3 separate regions of the Homo sapiens genome follow, and all the other regions are linked to region 3. The links are contacts of gene promoters, found by promoter capture Hi-C in human tissues and cell types (Jung and others, 2019). All regions are on one chromosome and are shown on one strand. Each heading gives the region's core, a stretch centred on a gene start or on the middle of the fragment in contact. The rest is flanking DNA. Distances are from core to core; before and after follow the strand shown. Region 1 holds the start of OASL (2'-5'-oligoadenylate synthetase like). Region 2 overlaps P2RX7 (purinergic receptor P2X 7). Region 3 holds the start of UNC119B (unc-119 lipid binding chaperone B).

Region 1 (4,367 bases), core at 1,763-4,262, 330 kb after region 3:
TCCTGATTTGCTTCAGTTTTAAACCTATTTAAGCACAATTCATTTGAAGACGAGCATTCCCTTATGTGGACCAGCTCCGCTCACTAGATTTTCAGAGGGTGGGGAACGGGAGGGTTTAGACTCTAAATAAGATATATTATTCCTCATTAGTCATGGCTCACTGGGGATTGCTACCATTTAGTGGTTTCAAGAGGAAAAGTGGCTATGATGTGCAGGAAGTATTTGAGGCTTAGGTAAATAGCATTTCCTGCCGTAAAAACTCATTCTTGGCCGGGCGTGGTGGTTCACACCTGTAATCCCAGCATTTGGGGAGGCCGAGGTGGGTGGATCACTTGAGGTCAGGAGTTCGAGACCAGCCTGGCCAACATGATGGAACCCCGTCTCTACTAAAAATGCAAAGATTAGCCAGGCGTGGTGGAACACACACACACACAATAAACTTATTCTTGTAGCATCCTCCTCTTACCAGACATTCCTTATTCCCTCCACTTTATTCTCAAGTTTGTTGGGGAGGGGGTGGTCTAGGAGGGTCTGCCAGAGTCAGACTTGAGTCCCAGGCCCAGAAGAAAGCTTGGCAAGAATTATAATGATGCTTCTGTTTCTGAGCATTTATCGTGCATGAATCATTCAGCCTGCATTGCACCACTGGCTTGGTGAGGGAGAGATGATGATGATGCCCCAATCACAGATGAAAAGAATGTGGGTTTGAGAAAGAAGAGTGGGAAGGTCAAAACCACACAGCTGGTAAAGGAAGAAGCGAAGAGTCTGTCTAATATCAAAATTTGTGGTTTCTCACTTATAAATTGTATGGCCTCAGGCTTCATATGCTGGGGATAGGTGCAAAGAACGGATAGGGGCCCAGGGCTTCTAGATCCCTCTGTGAGTTGGTTGCCCCTAGAGAGAGAACTTGAGCACTGGGCTGGGAGTCAGGGGTCCTAATTCTAGTCTTGCCTTTGCCACCAACTCGCTGTGTGACCTTGGGGTATCTCTCACCCTCTCTGTGCCTCGGTTTACTTAATTTTTTAAGTGAGTCATTGGTGAGACTGTCTGATTCTCCAAAGTCTTTCTAGCTCCGACCCTCTTGAATTTTGATCTTAGCTAGCACAGGCGGTGGCATGAAACAGCTGGAGGAAGGGCTTGGGGGAAAATCTCAGTGAGGGGGGCTTGGGTCCCTTGAGTCAAGTTCAAATCCCAGCTTCAACACTGTGTGACCTTGGGCAAGTCACCTCACCTCTCTGAGCCTCCATTAAAAAATCATTTTAGGCCGAGTGCAGTGGCTCACTGTAATCCCAGCACTTTGGGAGGCCGAGGAGGGCAGATCATGAGGTCAGGAGATCGAGACCATCCTAGCCAACACGGTGAAACCCTGTCTCTACTAAAATACAAAAAATTAGCCGGGCGTGGTGGTGGGCGCTGTCGTCCCAGCTACTTGGGAGGCTGAGGCAGGGGAATTGCTTGAACCTGGGAGGCAGAGGTTGCAGTGAGCTGAGATCGTGCCACTGCACTCCAGCCTGGTGACAGAGCAAGACTCTGTCTCAAAAAAAAAAAAACAAAAACAAAAATCATTTTATTGGCCGGCCAGACATGGTGGCTCACACCTGTAATCCCAGCACTTTGGGAGGCCAAGGTGGGCATATTCTTGATCCCAGGAGTTCGAGACCAGCATGGGCAACATTGGTGAAACCCTATCTCTACAAAAAATACAAAAATTAGCTGAGCATGGTGGTGCATGCCTGTAATCCCAAGCTATTTAGGAGGCTGAGGATCACCTGAGCTCAGGGAGATTGAGGCTACAGTGAGTGGTGATTGTGCCACTGCACTCCAGCCTGGGTGACAGAGCGAGACCCTGTCTCTAAAAAAAAAAAAAGTCATTTTATTATCAAAAAGTTAAAACACATAGAAAAATAGATGATACAACTAACACTCATATACCCAACTAGTTGATTCAACAAGTCTAAATTCCTGGCTACATGTGCTTAATCTAAGCCACGTTAAAGTAAATTATAGGCACCAAGGAACTTTGTCCCTAAAATACTTCAGTGTTCGTGTCCAAACAAAAGACAACCTTCTGATAACCACAAAACTACTGTTACACCTAACAAAATCAACAATGATTTCCCATATCAGATATATGTACTATCTGATATCTAGGCCAGTTGTCCCCAAACTATATTTTACAGATGGTTCATTCACACTAGGATCCAACCAAGGACCTCGCATTGTATTGGTTCTGAGCCTCCATTTGCTAATCTGTAAACTGGGCAAAGAATAGTACCTATCTCACAGAGTGCAAGAATTAGAGATAGTGTATGTTAAGAGGTTAGTCCAGTGAGCCCCCAAATGTGAGCTATTATTACTAGACTCATTCTACTCAAGGCAGTGGTGCAGTGGGGTGTAGACAGCTAGGTGGGATGGGGTATTCTGAGATGTCATCAGCATGGGCTAGGGATAAGGAGGACAGGGGTCCCCAGCATCCCCAGGGACGTGGACTCTGATACTGGGTTTTGTCTTGCGTGGGGGCTGGAGGAGCCCAGTCTTACCTTGACTACCTTCAGCACCCGCACATCCTGGTCCAGCCCACGCTTCCCCTGGAAATGCTCCTGCCTCAGAAACTCCTCCACGGTCCGCACAGCGTCTAGCACCTCTTCCTTCCACTCCCGGTGGGGCTGCAGCCACTGAGCCACGAAGGAGTCCAGCCTGGAGGCTGGTGTGCTATACAGTTCCTGCATCAGTGCCATCTCTGTCCCGAGAGTACCGCTGCTGGGCAGATATATAGCCAGGCTCCTACCCAGCTCCCTGGCACACACCTCCTTTTTTAAGGTAGCTCCTCCTCAGCTGCCCTCCAGTGCTCTGTGGGAGGAGGGACCCTAGCAGAGAGGAAACCAGGTGTGACGGGCTGACTCCAGGTCCCCCTTCTTGGAGACACCCTTGCTGCAGTAGGGGCACAGGAGGACTCTGGGCTGAGGCTGGAATATCTGGGGCCACCTTAACAGGCTGGCCGTCTAGTCAATCTGTCATCAGTTTCGATTCTCAACTTTTAGAGTTCTCCTTTATGACGTTGGGAAACTGAAGTTGGATAGTGTTTGACCCCAAAGGAGGCAACTTGCCCAGTAGGTTGGGGTTGGATAGTTGTTAGTCAATTCAACTGCTTACATCTGTCTAAGGAAATTGAGGCTTGGGAACGGAAGGGACTCACTAGTGTTCAGGTGGTGGAGTGAGAATCTGGAGCCCAAGAGAACAGACTGGGAATTCTAGTCTACCTGTGCCAGACTCTAACCTCTTTGACCCTCACTATTCATAGAGTGGGTTTTTTTGTTTTTTTGTTTTTTTTTTTTTTTGGCCGGGTCTTGCTCTGTTGCCCAGGCTGGAGTGCAGTGGTGCAATCTCAGCTCACTACAACCTCTGCCTCACGGGTTCAAGCGATTCTCCTGCCTCAGCCTCCCTAGTAGCTGGGACTACAGACATGTGCCACCACGCCCGGCTAATTTTTTTTTTGTATTTTTAGTAGAGACGGGGGTCTCACCATTTTGGTCAGGCTGGTCTCAAACTCCTGACCTCAAATGATCCGCCCACCTCGGCCTCCCACAGTGCTAGGATTACAGCGTGAGCCACCGCGCCCGGCCCATAGAGTGGGTTTAACAGGTATTATGATTCACGCACTGAACCAAGAAGTTCATGCATTGAGCCAAGAAGACAAAATAAGATGAGGTTCCTGTTCCAAGGGGACTCCCAGAACGGTGGAGGAGACACAGAAAAAAGAGACTGCAAAAGTCCAGTGCGATGAGTTAAGTAGGAAAAAAGCATGAAAACATGAAGCCGGCAGATGAGTTTCATTTGGTGTTAGCAGACACCTGCTTGAGAGGAATCTTAAAGACTGGGGATCCGGGCTGGGCATGGTGGCTCATGCTTGTAGTCCCAGCACTTTGGGAGGCCAAGGTGAGAGGATCACTTGAGGCCAGGAGTTCAAGACCAGCCTGGGCAACATAGCTGGACACCTGCAACTTCCCAAACTCTGAATAATATTAAGTGCTCCAGGGCTTAGTCCTGGGTCCTTTTCTCTTCTTGTTCTAGACTTACTCCCTTGGTGATTTCAGCCAGCGTTTAAATGTTTTTACTCTGGCAACTTCCACATTTTAATTTTATTTTTATTTATTTGTTTATTTTTGAGATGGAGTCTCACTGTCTCGCCCAGGCTGGAGTTCAGTGACACAATCTCGGCTCACTGCAACCTCTGCCTCCCAGGTTCAGGCGATTCTTGTGCCTCAGCCTCCCAAGGAGCTGGGATTACAGGAGCCCGCCACCGCGCCTGGCTAACTTTTTGTATTTTTAGTAGGGACAGTGTTTCACCATGTTGCCCAGGCTGGTCT
Region 2 (4,554 bases), core at 502-3,001, 440 kb after region 3:
ACCCGCCTTGGCCTCCCAAAGTTCTGGGATTACAGGCATGAGCCACTGCACCCAGCCCTAATATCCTCTTATTACAAAAGAAGAAACAATGACTCAGAAAGATTAAGTCACTTACCCAAGGTCATGTAGTCAGTAAGCAATAGAGCTGAGACTGAACCTCACTCCAAAGTCTATGCTCTCACTAAAGTATTGCAGTGTAGAGAGTAGAGGGGACAGGGTGAGACTGGAGGAAGGGAGGGCATTTAGGAGACTATTGGGATGTCCAGATCTGAGAGCTGTTGGCGACCTGGACTGGGGAGGTGATAGAGGCAGAGGAGAGAAGTAGATGAATTTGAGCATATTAGGAAGTGAAACAGTAGGATTTGGCAACTGAACGGGTGAGTGGACAAGAAGGAGAGGATGAGTCAAAGAGTGCACCATGCTTCTGGCTTGGGCAACTGATGGGTACTGGAATAACTTGCTGGGATAGGAAATGCAGGAGAAACAGCCAATTTGGGGTGGAAGATGAGGTCAGGACTAAAGGCATTGAGTTTGAGGTGTCTATGGAATGTACAAATGGAGATGTTGAATGGATGGTTGGATATACGAATCTGCAGCTGAGATGTAGGTTTCTATATCACCAGCATATAGACGGCAACCAGAACCCTGGAAGAAGGTGCAACCGACCAGCAAGAGAAGATGTAGATGAGAAAGCAAAAGGGCCTAGAACACGCCCCAAAGGAGTGCTAACCTTTAAGGCGTGGGAGCGCAGAAGTCCCCAAAAGATTCTGAGGAGTAGCCACGGCGATCCAGTGAAAGTCAGGCACAAGTGGACTCCTGCAAGCTAAGGGAAGGAGGCGAGGGAAGTGGGGCATGGTCACAGTCAGTGTCAACTGCTGCTGAGAGTTCCAGGAAGGTCAGGTCCATGGTGTATCTATTGGATTTAGTGACAACGACATTGTTGTTTACTTGGCAAGAGAGGCTTTAGAGAAGGGATGGGGGTGGGAGCCAGACTAGAGTGGGTAGAGGAGTGAGTGAATCAAGATGCGGAAGTGGATGTGATGACTCGCCCTTTCTTTCTTCTTTCTTTCTTTTTTTTTTTTTTGAGATGCAGTCTTCCTCTGTCGCCCAGGCTGGAGTGCGATGGTGTGATCTCCACTCACCACAACCTCTGCCTCCTGGGTTCAAGTGATTCTCCTGCCTCAGCCTTCCAAGTAGCTGGGATTACAGGCATGTGCCACCACACCCGCCTAATTTTTTGTATTTTTAGTAGAGACGGGGTTTCACCATGTTGGCCAGGCTGGTCTCAAACTCCTGACCTCTTGATCCACCTGCCTCAGCCTCCCAAAGTGCTGGGATTACAGGCGTGAGCCACCGTACCCGGCCTGGTGACTCACTCTTTCAAGGGACTCAGCTATAAAGAAGAGAGGCATGGAGTGGTGGTAGGATGGATTAAGCTGGGGAGGGGAGGCATTTTTAAGATGAGAAATGATGTTTAAATGCAGATGGAAATGGGACAGGAGAGAAACGGAAGTTGATGGGATAAATGAAAATTATCATCATCATCTTCCTCACCATCACCAGCAGCAACCACAAGGAAAGCTCGTTCTGCTCTGGGACTGCCCTGTTAGACATTTCTTCCTTATACTGAGCCACAATCTATCTCCCTGTAACTTTCGCCTTTGGTTAGAGTTCTGCCTTGTGTCCCTCTTCTACTCTTCAAATGGCTGCACGCTGCTACTATGTCTGTCCTCTTCTTCAAACTCACAGCCCCCATCCTACGGGCCCTGTGCTCCCAGCCTGGTGACCCGACCCTCTACTGTCCCAGCCAAGTTCACATGACCATCCTCTTATTTGTCAAGCCTCTCTTTTTTTTTTTTTTTTTTTTTTTTTTTTTGAGGAGTCTTACTCTGTCCCAGGCTGGAGGGCATGGCACAATCTCAGCTCACTGCAACCTCTGCCTCCTGGTTTCAAGTGATTCTCCTGCCTCAGCCTCCTGAATGCTGGGATTACAGGCATACATCGCCATGCCTGGTTAATTTTTGTATTTTTAGTAGAGACGGGGTTTCACCATGTTGGCCAGGCTGGTCTTGAACTCCTGACCTCCAGTGATCCCCCTGCCTCAGCTTCCCAAAGTGCTGGGATTACAGCGTGAGCCACTGAGCCGGGCCAAGCCCCTCTGAAGAGGCAGTGTGCACACTCTTGCTTTGCTGATAGAAGCATGAAATGGTTCAAGTTTTTGTGATTTGGGAAAATGAACTCAGCTATAAAATGTGCACACCCAGAAGTTGTCCTATGGACTTAATGTCTTAGGGGTGAGAAGAAGCTTGTGCAGGGATTCCTGGCAACATGAATGCGGGATGGACAGACAGTGAGCACAGTGTTGAGGAGCACAGCCTGAGTGCATCTCCCTGAGATCAGGAACAGGACAAGGATGCCCGCTTTCACCGCTGCTGTTCGACATTGTACTGGAAGTTCTAGCCAGAGCAATTAGGCAAGAAAAAGCAATAAAAGGCATCCAGATTGTAAAGGATGAAGTAAAACTATCTTTAGTCACAGGTGGCACAATCCCATATAGGGAGAATCCCAAAGAATTCACAAGAAAACTGTTAGAGCAAATAAACTAATTCAGTCAAGTTGCAAGGAACAAGATCAACCACAAAAATTAATTGTGTGGGTTTTTTTTACACCAGCAATGAACATTTGAAAAGGAAATTCGAAAAAGTATTCCATTCACTGTAGCATTTAAGAAAGCTGAGGCTGTGAAGCTACATGGCTGTGTTTGGAGCTGGTGCTGCTATTTACCATGTGACCTTGGACAAGCTTCTCACTTCATTCATGACACCGTTTATTCAGCTATTAAGTGGGGGTAATAATAGTACCTTCCTTATAGAGTTGGTTTTTTGTTTTTGTTTTTGTTTTTGGTGGGGGAGAGTAAGGATTGCAAGAGTTAATATATGTTAGCAAAATGGACTTAGAAGAGTGGTTGGCACATGGTAAGGACTATATTAGGGTTACCAAAAAATGTTTATAATTGGGAAAATTGAACAAAGGTTCCAGTAAATATCCATCCCAGAGGCTGGTTGACAAATTATCACAATGTACCTTTTAGCTTGAACCATATGGAACTGCCTATATTCTATAGCTATGGCCTACAAAATGCAAAATGGGCAGTTTTTTTTGTTGTTGTTTGTTTGTTTGTTTGTTTGTCTTGAGACAGTCTCAGTCTGTCACCAGGCTGAAGTGCAGTGGCACGATCTTGGCTCACTGCAACCTCTGCCTCCCAGGTTCAAGCGATTCTCCTGCCTCAGCCTCCCAAGTAGCTGGGATTACAGGTGTGCACCACCACGCCCAGCTAATTTTTGTATTTTTAGTAGAGATGGGGTTTCCACCATGTTGGCCAGGCGGGTCTTGAACTCCTGGCCTCAATTAATCTGCCTGCCTCGGCCTCCCAGAGTTCTGGGATTACATGAGTGAGCCACCGAGCCCAGCCAAAATGGGCCGTTTCATATGTTCAATTTAAACACTAAGATACTCTTTAGCCACTGAAAATGACTGTGTATCATAGATCTATCTTTATCACAGATCTATCTTTACTGTCATAGAAAGAACTAATAACATATTATTGAACAAAAATAACAAGTTACAAAACAGCTTGCAGCCACGTTTGTAACATCAGTATATCTATTTGTGTGTCTAGGTGTGGACATAAAGAGATATCTAGAAGACACTCCCATTGCCTATGGGAATGACTTGGGCTGGGATCTTTTTTATTTATTTATTTATTTATTTATTTATTTATTTATTTATTTTGAGACAGAGTCTCACTCTGTCACCCAGGCTGGAGTGCAATGGCATGATCTTGGCTCACTGCAACCTCCGCCTCCCAGGTTCAAACGATTCTCCCACCTCAGCCTCCCAAGTAGCTGGAATTATAGGCACCCATCACCGCACCTAGCTAATTTTTGCCTTTTTAGTAGAAATGGGGTTTCGCCATGTTGCCCAGGCTGGTCTCAAACTCTTGATCTCAAATTATCCACCTGCCTCAGCCTCCCAAAGTGCTGGAATTACAGGCGTGAGTCACCGCACCCAGCTGTGATCTTAATTTATATTTTTTCTTTTTAACCCTTGATTTTTACCCTGTTTGACTGACTTTAGGAGTCTGACCCCCAAAACTGCAAAAGAATAAATTAGTGTTGTTGAAAGCCACTAAGTTTGTGGTAATTTGTTAGAGCAACAACCAGAAACTAATACAATCGGGATTAAACTTGCCCTGGGGGTGCTGGCTCTCCCCCACTTTCTTCTCAGAGCATCTCTTGGGTCCTCGCCCCTTGCTGAGCCCCCACCATGGCCGGGTGGACCAGCGATGGACCTGATCGGATTCTCCTCTTGGGATTTTAAATAAGAGATGCAGAGGCTGCACGCCAAGCTTCTCTGTGCCGCACTGCAGGCACAGTCCTGGCGCTACTGTTCTTTAGGGGTCCATGAAGATGTTTGTTGGCCTGGCTTAGGTGTGAGCTAAGAGATACAAGGGATACACTTTGGAGGCTCAGCCCTTTGATGTTACCTTTGCGC
Region 3 (4,671 bases), core at 1,852-4,351:
AGACGGGGTTTCACCATATTGGTCAGGCTGGTCTCGAACTCCTGACGTTGTGATCTGCCTGCCTCGGCTTCCCAAAGTGCTGGAATTATAGCCGTGAGCCACTGCACCTGGCCGGTATTTTCTTTTTAAAAAAGTATACAAGCAGCCCATGATTATATGCTTGAGATAAAATAGTACAGAAGTAGTAGTTCTAAATAATGTCAAAAGTGAATATATTTCCTTTAGTCTCTTCTGATACTCTCCTCCCCAGACGTAATCAAAGTTAATGTTTTAATGTATATCCAGACCTCTTCCTTTACAGTTACAAATGCATATTTATATTTATGTCTATGTCTATCTGTGTTTTTTTTTTTTTTTTTTTTGAGACAGGGTCTCACGCCCATGGCCCAGGCTAAAGTGCAGTGGTGCGATCTCAGCTCACACAGCCTCGGCTTCCTGGGCTCCGGTGATTCTCCCACCTCAGCCTCCTGAGTAGCTGGGACTACTGGCATGCACCACCACGCCCAGCTAATTTTCGTATTTTTAGTAGAGACGGGGTTTTGCCATGTTTCCCAGGCTGGTCTCGAACTCCTGGGCTCAAGCAATTTGCTCACCTTGGCCTCCCAAAGTGCTGGGATTACAGGCATGAACCACCACACTCGGCCCACATCTAAATATTTATATACTTTTTATTTTAAATAAATGGGATTCGCGGCTGGATGCAGTGAGCTGTGATTGTGCCACTGCACTGCAGCCTGGGTGACAAGAGTGAGACCCTGTCTTAAATAAATAAATACACAAATATGACTCTGTGCCTTGCTTTTTGCCCTACTTAATATATGTTTGAGATCTTTCCATACTAATATATATGTCTCATTTTTTAAAACAGCTCTATGTAACGTGAATGGATACAAATGTAATTTATTGTAATTTGTCAATATTACAAATCTCTGTGCATGCAGGTAGGGTAAATTCCTAGATGTGGAATTGCAGGTGAAGAGGTTACATTTGCCATCATCCCTAGAAAGAGAAAAGCCATGGTCCAGGTAACTAGTCTTGGTGCTATGAGAACAAACCTTCCGTAAATAAGTATATGGGAAATGACCACATGCTAAACCACCCTCTTGGCCATTCACAATCAAGTAGCATATTAAAAGTTCTGGAAATTCTTCAGTAACCACTCTGTTGAGTGGTTTAAAAAGAGTTGTTTGTAAAAGGAAAGACTTTAATTCTTTGTACACATTTATTAAAATCTCCCTGAACAGTTAGTTAAATGCCACCATATACTAATCTCTCAAAGACAGTACAGCATTTGGGTAGGAATTTGGCCACACACTATGCCACCCAATTGGGCAGCTGGGGTGGGGTCAGGTTTGGACTTTGTCCAGGAACCAAGAGATGCCTGTCTTGGTGGCTTTGGTGAGAGGGACTCAGCAAGCAAGGCCTGGCAAGAACGTCAAGAGGCTCTGGGGGACGGTTGCAATTTTACTCTAGCCTGGCTGAGAGGTGATGTCAGACCTAGCAGACACACTGCATCAATCAGGCCCAGGCCTCCAACACAGAACAGTGCAGATCTAGAATCCCTAGAGAAGGAGCCCCTCAGGGTGGAAGACGGTAGACCACATCCCCCTGTTGACCCACTTCTGGCTAATTGGTGAGGTCATGGCTAACTTCCAAAGCTCAGTGCAGATATTGCCTCTGAAAACTTCCGAAGCCCTCAAGCTTTTACAGCCAGGTCAGAATAAACCACTCCTGTGTGTTCTCCTAGCACCTTTGCTGCATCTCTTAGTGCAGTCAGTGAATCTAGTTTGTCTTCCAGTTCATACTAACCTACCTTGTGAAAAGGAAGGGTCACATAATGAATTGTGTACTTTACAGTCTTCTCTAACAAAAGTGGGAGCTCTTCCATAGTGGGATACTGTTCAGGCTCTCATTCAATCATTACTGAGCACCTACCACGTGTCAGGCATTAGCTGAACTGCTGGGAATTCAGGGGTGAGGCAGACCCAATCCCTGCCCTCACTCTTACATCTCCTGTAGCCTAGCCCAATGTCTAGCCCAGGGCCTGGCACAGTAGGGCTTACGGATGGCAATCTCATTGGAAAGTTTGTCTTGAAACTGCCTTTGCAAAACAAACACTGCTTTAACTTACCTTCTATGCTAAATATATTAATAAACATTTTCTCAAGATGCATTGTCCACTAATAGCTTAGTGTTGAAGAACAGGCCTTGGGTCAGATGGACCTGGATTAAAATCCCTGTTCCCTCCTCTTACTGCTTGAGGGACTTTGGACATGTTACCTGACTTCTCTGAACTTGAGCTTCCTGATCTGTAAAATGGAGACAGTAATACCTCACAGGGTTGTTGTGAGGTGAGGAGCCTGCCCTATAGCAAGTGTCCTGCCATATAGCAAGTGCGCAGTAAACACTGGCCATTCTTCTTCTTGGTGTGATTACTGGGAATTAGTTGCCATTGTGCTGTTGGGACTGGTGACAGAACTCTTGGATTGAGAATGCCGAGATGGTGCACGGAAGATTCTGTGTGCTCTTTCAGACCAGGAGGAGGATGAGGAGGAGGAAAGTTTATATGACGTAAATTCATTTGACCGTAAGATATGTATTTAAACATCGTGGAGGATCTTGGGGGTCTGATGGGGAGTGGGGTTGCTGAAGCTCCAGCCACCCCTAGGCCCTCCACCTGGCAGGACCAAAGTTGGGGCAGTAGCCGAAGCACCGCCCCCCGGGCCCCGCAGGAGTGTGCAGTCACCCAGTTAGGCCTATCTTGGCCTGCCCATCACTCCTGGCCTGCGGTCTCCTAACCCTGTGGCAGCAGCAGCATTCCCTGAATGGATCGAAGGCTGCCATGGTGTCGTCCGCTGAATTGCTATAGGAGTCAGCCCAGGGCTGCTCATGTGCACCTCAGGTTGCTGATGGCAGCTCTAGTTATTTGGGGATGGAAGTTTGGGGAGAGTGGGCCTTGGTCCACCCTGTGCGAAAGGGAATTCCACAGCCCCCCGGGCGCCCGCCCCCGCCCCCGCCCCGCCCCCTCCCCGCCCCTTCCCCGCCGGGCCCCGGGCCCCGCCCCCGCTCTCCATAGTTACCGCGCTGTGGAGGCGGCGGCCATCTTGGCGGCGGAGCGATGAGCGGGTCTAACCCGAAGGCTGCGGCCGCGGCGTCGGCGGCTGGGCCCGGGGGGCTGGTGGCTGGCAAGGAGGAGAAGAAGAAGGCGGGCGGCGGCGTCCTGAACCGCCTGAAGGCGCGGCGGCAGGCGCCCCACCACGCGGCCGACGACGGCGTCGGGGCAGCGGTCACGGAGCAGGAGCTGCTGGCGCTGGACACCATCCGGCCCGAGCACGTCCTGCGCCTCAGCCGGGTCACCGAGAGTGAGTGCCGCGCGGGCCGCGCCCTCCCCTCGCGCCGTGCCCCGGCTCCCGGAGCCTTCAGCGGACCCGGCCACTTGACCAGCGCGGGGGTCCCCGCCAGACCCCCTCGGCCGGCCGGGCCGCGCTTCCCGCTGCCCCGCCGGCCGGGCTTTGCTCCCGCCACGCTCACGTAGCTCTGGTGGGGAAGGACTCTCCTGGGCTGGACCGCATTCCTGTGAGTCCGGCCACGCTAGGATGCCCTTCGGCCGGTCGGCTCCCCAGCTCTGCCGGACCTGTTTGGGTAGAGGGCCCCGTTCAGCTGAACTGGATCCTCCTGAGCCGGCCGGGGGCCGAGGTCCCCTAATAAATGGGCCCCTGGGCCCTCAGCCTGGAACCCCCGGCCATCAGTGAAGTTCCCGCTCAGCCAGGCTCCCCCAGCCCTCTGGCAGGCCAGAAGCCTTACCTGCTTCCTCCGCCCTGGCCCCATGGCAGCCCTCCCCCATTGCAGCCTGCCCGGCCTCCCTCCCTCTTTGGGTCGGGAGCGTTGCCCCTTAGTGTGCAGATGGGTTCTTCCTCAAAACACATAGCCGTGGCATTTCCTGCTCATTTAAAACTGTGCCACATTAAAACAAAAATAAAGTTTCAGTTTGTGTACAGACTCCGACATGTGAATCCTGCTTTTGACATTCTCGTGAATTAAGAATGATTTCAGAGTTTCAGAAATGCGTTTCCTGCACAAAAGGCAACCATCCTAAGCTTTTTCGTTGATAGGAGGATGGGTGGGAAGAAAAATGTTGCCCAGTCCCTGCCCTGGGTGATCTCCCTTTTTCTGTTCTCTGCCAAGCCAGTCCCTGACTTGACGTCTTTTCTCTTGCTGCTGTTTTCCCTGCAGGAGTGTGCACTCACCTAGTTAGGCCTATCTTGGCCTGCCCATCACTCCTGGCGTGCAGTCTCCTAACCCTGTGGCAGCAGCAACATTCCCTGGATGGATCGAAGGCTGCCATGGTGTCTGCTGAGCTGCTATAGCAGGCAGCCCAGGGCTGTTCAGGTGCACCTCAGGTTGCCGATTGCAGCTCTAGTAATTTGGGGATGGAAATTTGGGGGGAGTAGGCCTTGGTCCACCCTGTGCGAAAGGGAATTCCCATTTCCTAAAAGAGTTTTAATTTGATTCTAGATATTTGGATGCCCCCGTTTCCCAATACTGTTTGGGTTGAGACTGTCCTTACCAGACCTGAACGTATCTTTAGACATTCTTGTTAGTTTTATTGAAACAGTGTGAAAAAGCTTCTTTTCTTCTGAACCAGTTTTCATTTGGGGCTCTGAAAGTACA

The links. Contacts are between HindIII fragments. The study calls those that stand out against the background at their distance.
Region 1: a contact is called between the fragment with the promoter of OASL here and the fragment with the promoter of UNC119B in region 3, in 1 of the 25 tissues and cell types used here (IMR-90 fibroblasts).
Region 2: a contact is called between a fragment that was not itself captured here and the fragment with the promoter of UNC119B in region 3, in 1 of the 25 tissues and cell types used here (dorsolateral prefrontal cortex).

Annotation. Positions count from the first base shown.
Region 1 is chr12:121,036,234-121,040,600 of GRCh38, forward strand. It overlaps OASL (2'-5'-oligoadenylate synthetase like), which reads right to left and starts at 3,013. Exons shown (of 6, transcript NM_003733.4): 1 at 2,541-3,013. The coding sequence starts at 2,738. RefSeq lists enhancers at 2,177-2,678, 2,679-3,178, 2,758-3,177. The HindIII fragment of the contact is 11,669 bases long and covers 1-3,085 here.
Region 2 is chr12:121,144,441-121,148,994 of GRCh38, forward strand. The region is part of intron 1 of P2RX7 (purinergic receptor P2X 7); the gene reads left to right. All of the region lies in intron 2 of LOC105370032 (a long non-coding RNA gene), which reads right to left. Among named protein-coding and RNA genes, the nearest start is that of P2RX7, 14 kb to the left of the region's middle. The HindIII fragment of the contact is 3,708 bases long and covers 1-3,605 here.
Region 3 is chr12:120,707,357-120,712,027 of GRCh38, forward strand. It overlaps UNC119B (unc-119 lipid binding chaperone B), which reads left to right and starts at 3,102. Exons shown (of 5, transcript NM_001080533.3): 1 at 3,102-3,362. The coding sequence starts at 3,119. LOC124903036 (a long non-coding RNA gene) reads right to left here and starts at 3,150. Exons shown (of 2, transcript XR_007063491.1): 1 at 3,081-3,150; 2 at 2,577-2,918. RefSeq lists silencers at 2,992-3,051, 3,142-3,411 and an enhancer at 3,019-3,861. The HindIII fragment of the contact is 6,851 bases long and covers 1-4,361 here.